Linked DNA regions of Homo sapiens: region 1 is linked to region 2. Evidence: promoter capture Hi-C in 16 types of primary human blood cells and fetal thymus (Javierre and others, 2016). All regions are on one chromosome and are shown on one strand. The core of a region is centred on a gene start or on the middle of the fragment in contact, and the rest is flanking DNA. Distances in the headings are between cores, read along the strand shown.

Region 1 (2,700 bases), core at 173-2,672, 220 kb before region 2:
ATTTTTTTTGTAGAGACAGGGTCCATCTATGTTGTCCAGGCTGGTCTCGAACTCCTGTCCTCAACTGATCCTCCCGCATCAGCTTCCCAAAGTGTTGAGACTACAGGCCTGAGCCACCACGCCCAGCCACCTTACAGTGCTGAGATTACAGGTCTGAGCCACCACGCCCGGCCACCTTACAGTGCTGAGATTACGGGCCTGAGCCACCACGCCCGGCCACCTTACAGTGCTGAGATTAGGGGTCTGAGCCACCACGCCCGGCCACCTTACAGTGCTGAGATTACGGGCCTGAGCCACCACGCCCGGCCACCTTACAGTGCTGAGATTACGGGTCTGAGCCACCACGCCCGGCCACCTTACAGTGCTGAGATGACAGGCCTGAGCCACCACGCCCGGCCACCTTACAGTTTTAAAAGCTTCAATACTTTTCTATTTCTCCCTCCCATTCTCATACCACATTTTCTACCTCAAAAAGAAATCCCATCACCTCTCAGTCTTAAACATTCCAAACGTGTTTTTCTTTCCACCAGAAGATAAACCAGGAGAGGAAGAAGAATCAAAATTCTGAAGGACTCTTCATCAATACTCTTCTAACTGTTTTGGAAGGAGATCTGGCTGGGGCAACCCATGCTGGGCTGAGTGGCTGTGAGCTGTGGGTATGGCGTAGGGTACAAGTCCCTTCTCTGGGCTGGGCCTCAGTGTTGTCCAAGGGGTGAGCCCCAGGCCTGCCCTGGGGCCAGAGGTGACAGTGAGGGGCTTGAGGAAGGGCCCGGCTGGAAAGATGCATCCTAAGTTTGGTGGGGTTCTTTTTCATTCCCTATAAAACACGGTGCAGAGCATTTTGCTCTTCTACACCATACATGATACACAGAAAAACCCCATGCGGCTCCTGTGGGGACTGTGTCCACCAGCAGAGGACAAGGGCATTCTTCTGTCTGCAACAACGAAGGCAAATGCGAGGACGGTAATTTTTCCTTTGACAAAATGAGCTTAATGTTGTTTTAATTGGAGACAGGATCTTGGTCTGTCACCCAGGTTGGAGCGCAGCGGCACGAGCATGGCTCACTACAGCCTCAACTTCCCGGGCTCAAGTGATCTTCCCATCTTAGCCTCCCAAGTGTCCAGGACTGGAGGAATGCACGACCACACCTAATTTTTAAATTTTTTGTAGAGAAAGAAGTCTCACTATGTTGGCCAGGCTGGTCTCGAACTCCTGGCCTCCAGCAATCCTCCCACCTCCCACCCGGCCTATATCTTTTTTTTCTTTTTTCAGACGGAGTCTTGCTCAGTCGCCCAGGCTGGAGTGCAATGGCACGATCTCGGCTCACTGCAACCTCTGCCTCTTGGGTTCAAACGATTCTCCTGTCTCAGCCTCCCAAGTAGCTGGGATTACAGGCACCGACCATCATGCCCAGCTAATTTTTGTATTTTTGTAGAGACAGGGTTTCACCATGTTGGCCAAGCTAGTCTCGAACTCCTGACCTCAAGCAATCCACCTGCCTCAGCCTCCAGAAGTGCTGGGATTACAGGTGAGAGCCACTGTGCCTGGCCACGGATTTTTTTTTTTTTTTTTTTGGAGACAGAGTCTCCATTGCCAGGCTGGAGTGCAGTGGTGCAATCTCAGCTCACTATAACCTCCACCTCCCAGGTTCAAGGGGTTCTCCTGCCTCAGCTTCCAGAGTAGCTGGGATTACAGGCGTGTACCACCACGCCCGGCTAATTTTTTTATTTTCAGTAGAGATGGGGTTTCCATGTTGGCCAGGATGGTCTCAATCTCTTGACCTCGTGACCTGCCCGCCTCGGCCTCCAAAAGTGTTGGCAAACAGGCATAAGCCACCGTGTGCCTGGCCTTTTTTTTTTTTTTTTTTTTTTTGAGATGGAGTCTCACTCTTGTCGCCCAGGCCGGAGTGCAGTGGCATGATCTCAGCTCACTGCAACTTCCACTTCCCAGGTTCAGGCAATTCTCCTGCCTTAGCCTCCTGAATAGCTGATTACAGGCACACACCACCATGCCCGGTTAATTTTTTGTATGCTGGCCAGGCTGGTCTCAAACTCCTGACCTCATGATCCGCCCACCTCAGCCTCCCAAAGTGCTGGGATTTCAGGCGTGAGCCACCGTGCCCGCCCGGCAATGGATAATTTTTCACATCCACTTTTACGGTCTAAATGTTCTACAAGAAGTATTATTTCACAATATTTTTAAATTTAATAATATGTTAAACTTTAATCATTTAAGAAAGACTATAAGCATCATACCAATTCAGTCAACAAGTATCTGAATTTCTCAGGAATAACCTTCCTAACATAATACCAGCAGCTCCAGCCCAGCATCCCACTCACTGGTCAGCTGGAGGCTGGCCCCCACCAACTGCCCAGGAGCTGAGTGGATCCAGCAGCAAGAACCTTCTACAACCAACCGCTAAGCTTTATATTCTATTCTTTTCCTAAACAATGTTTTCTAACCTTAAGTGCCTACCAGAAGCTGCTGGAGACCTCATTCAAAATGTATTGTGTGTGTCTGTTCTAATGTGTCTGGAGTCTGACTGACACAAGGCACTCCTCTTCTGTTTTGCCTAAGTCAGATCCAAGGCCAAAAAAAGCTTAAAAACATTTCAAACCCATTTAACTCTCAGATGCCTGGGGCAGAAGATTACAGTCCCAACATACAACAGACTGCCTAAGGCGAAAACCTGGGTGTGT
Region 2 (2,700 bases), core at 30-2,529:
GCGCACCCATCTGCACACACACGTGTTCACACGCACCCGTCTCTGCACATGCGTGTCCACACACACCCGTCTCTGCACACACGCGTGTCCACACGCACCCGTCTCTGCACACACGCATGGAGTCAAGTGCACCCGTCTCTGCACACACGTGTCCACACACACCCGTCTCTGCACACGCACATCCACACGCACACGTCTCTGCACACGCACGTGTCCACACGCACCCATCTCTGCACATGCGTGTCCACACACACCCGTCTCTGCACACACGTGTCCACACGCACCCGTCTCTGCACACACGCATGGAGTCACACGCACCCGTCTCTGCACACACAAGTGTCCACACACAGCCGTCTCTGTACACGCACGTCCACACGCACACGTCTCTGCACACACACGTCCACACGCACCCGCCTCTGCACACGCACGTGTCCACACGCATCCGTCTCTGCACACACACGTGTCCACACGCACCCGTCTCTGCACACACACGTGTCCACACGCACCCGTCTCTGCACACACATGTCCATACGCACCCGTCTCTGCACACACACGTGTCCACACACTCCTGCTCATGTGCTGCACCTACTGGCTTTGGGCACCAACGTCAACGCTTCGTCATTGTGGCGGGAGGCCCTCAGGACAGAGAAGTGCCCCCTCCCAGAGGACTCAGTCACCCTGGGGTCAGAGCCCAGGCACAGGTCTCCCTCAGCCCCTGAAGCTGGGCACTGCGGCCTGACGCACTCCTCCCAGGGAGGTCGGGAAACCTCAGGCCTGGACCATACCTCAGACCTCCCGCCTCCAGGACATGGAACGCAGAGCCACGGTCAGCTGGTCGGCTGCAGCGTTGGGTGCGGGTGCAGGCCCAGGCTCCTTCCCCACGGCCAAACCAGGGGGTGCCAATTCTGGCCTGCCCTGTGCTCCTCTGCACTGTGTGGGTGACTCATGGGTCATGGGTGGCTCCAGATTTCTGGGCATAAATTGGGTCCCAGCAGAAAGTACCCCAGAGGACCAGGCAGGCTGGGGGCCAGCTCTGCCGCTCACTTCCAGACCCTGCCACCCGTCCCCAGCCAGGGAGTCCCTTCTCTGTCCTCTGGTCTGCCCCGCCCCAGGCCTTGACCTCCTCCCTGTGGAGATGCAGGGGCAGTGGGGGATACAGGGACGCCCTGCTCTCAGGGCAGCTCTCAGGGAGGCAGTGCTGGGGAGGGGTAGGTGAGACCGCCCCTCCCACCGGGCCCACAGCACCACCCTGGTCTGAGGCACCGCCTCCAGGAAGCCCTCTCTGAGCTCTGAGCGCCTGCGGTCTCCTGTGTGCTGCTCTCTGTGGGGTCCTGTAGACCCAGAGAGGCTCAGCTGCACTCGCCCGGCTGGGAGAGCTGGGTGTGGGGAACATGGCCGGGCCTCCGAGGCTCCTGCTGCTGCCCCTGCTTCTGGCGCTGGCTCGCGGCCTGCCTGGGGCCCTGGCTGCCCAAGGTAAGAGCTTCCCAGGCTCTCCATGGCCACAGCTCCAGAGCTCTCCCTGCCCCATGAGCTCAGAGCCCCCAGTCTGAGCCACAGCACAGCCCCCAGGAAGCGGGTGGGGTGCTGAGCGGCCTCCAGTGTCTGAGGACTCATTTAAGAGAAGGAAAAAGGGTGGACCCCGGTGGGGAGTGGCCGGGGCTGTCCAGGCAGGGCCGCTGCTTTGGGAGGAAGAAGCCCACAGTCTCGGAACACGAGGACAGCACCTCCCCCAACACCACAGCCGGTGCCCAGATCTGCTCCATGCCCCGTAAGGCACCGTGTCTTTGGCGACATGTCAGCCCTGGGCTGTCTCAGGGCCCCACCATCCCCACCACTGTCCCCTGCAGGGAGGACATTCTCTGTCCTTCTGGCCAGACTGATGGTGACAGCCCAGGTCCTCCCCAGAGGTGCAGCAGTCTCCCCACTGCACGACTGTCCCCGTGGGAGCCTCCGTCAACATCACCTGCTCCACCAGCGGGGGCCTGCGTGGGATCTACCTGAGGCAGCTCGGGCCACAGCCCCAAGACATCATTTACTACGAGGACGGGGTGGTGCCCACTACGGACAGACGGTTCCGGGGCCGCATCGACTTCTCAGGGTCCCAGGACAACCTGACTATCACCATGCACCGCCTGCAGCTGTCGGACACTGGCACCTACACCTGCCAGGCCATCACGGAGGTCAATGTCTACGGCTCCGGCACCCTGGTCCTGGTGACAGGTAGGGAATGTGCCCATCCCAGACCCCCCTCCCAACCCCAGCTGCTGGCCAGGCTCTGCTCCCCCAGCCCTTGTCGTGGGACCCTCCCTCCTACATGTGCCTGAACTGTTCCAGCTCCCAGCCCACTGCCCCCAGCAGCCTCCTAGATAGCTGCCCCTCCTCCCCTCCACAGCCTTTCCCTGCCCCGAATCCCAAACCCCGGGGGCTCTAACAGGTTCTCCACCGGGAGAATCCCTTCCTTCTTTTTTCCTTCTCAGAGGAACAGTCCCAAGGATGGCACAGATGCTCGGACGCCCCACCAAGGGCCTCTGCCCTCCCTGCCCCACCGACAGGCTCCGCCCTCCCTGACCCGCAGACAGCCTCTGCCCTCCCTGACCCGCCAGCAGCCTCTGCCCTCCCTGCGGCCCTGGCGGTGATCTCCTTCCTCCTCGGGCTGGGCCTGGGGGTGGCGTGTGTGCTGGCGAGGACACAGGTCAGTGT

What was found. Contacts are between HindIII fragments. The CHiCAGO score rates a contact against its expected background, and 5 or more counts as called.
Region 1: a fragment that was not itself captured here is called in contact with the fragment with the promoter of CD7 in region 2 in 2 of 17 cell types (naive CD8 T cells and activated CD4 T cells); the score reaches 5.5 in naive CD8 T cells.

What each region holds. Positions count from the first base shown.
Region 1 is chr17:82,536,793-82,539,492 of GRCh38, reverse strand. The region is part of intron 1 of FOXK2 (forkhead box K2); the gene reads right to left. Among named protein-coding and RNA genes, the nearest start is that of FOXK2, 18 kb to the right of the region's middle. The HindIII fragment of the contact is 2,008 bases long and covers 419-2,426 here.
Region 2 is chr17:82,316,187-82,318,886 of GRCh38, reverse strand. CD7 (CD7 molecule) reads left to right here and starts at 1,279. Exons shown (of 4, transcript NM_006137.7): 1 at 1,279-1,473; 2 at 1,906-2,220; 3 at 2,478-2,692. The coding sequence starts at 1,392. The HindIII fragment of the contact is 24,830 bases long and covers 1-2,700 here.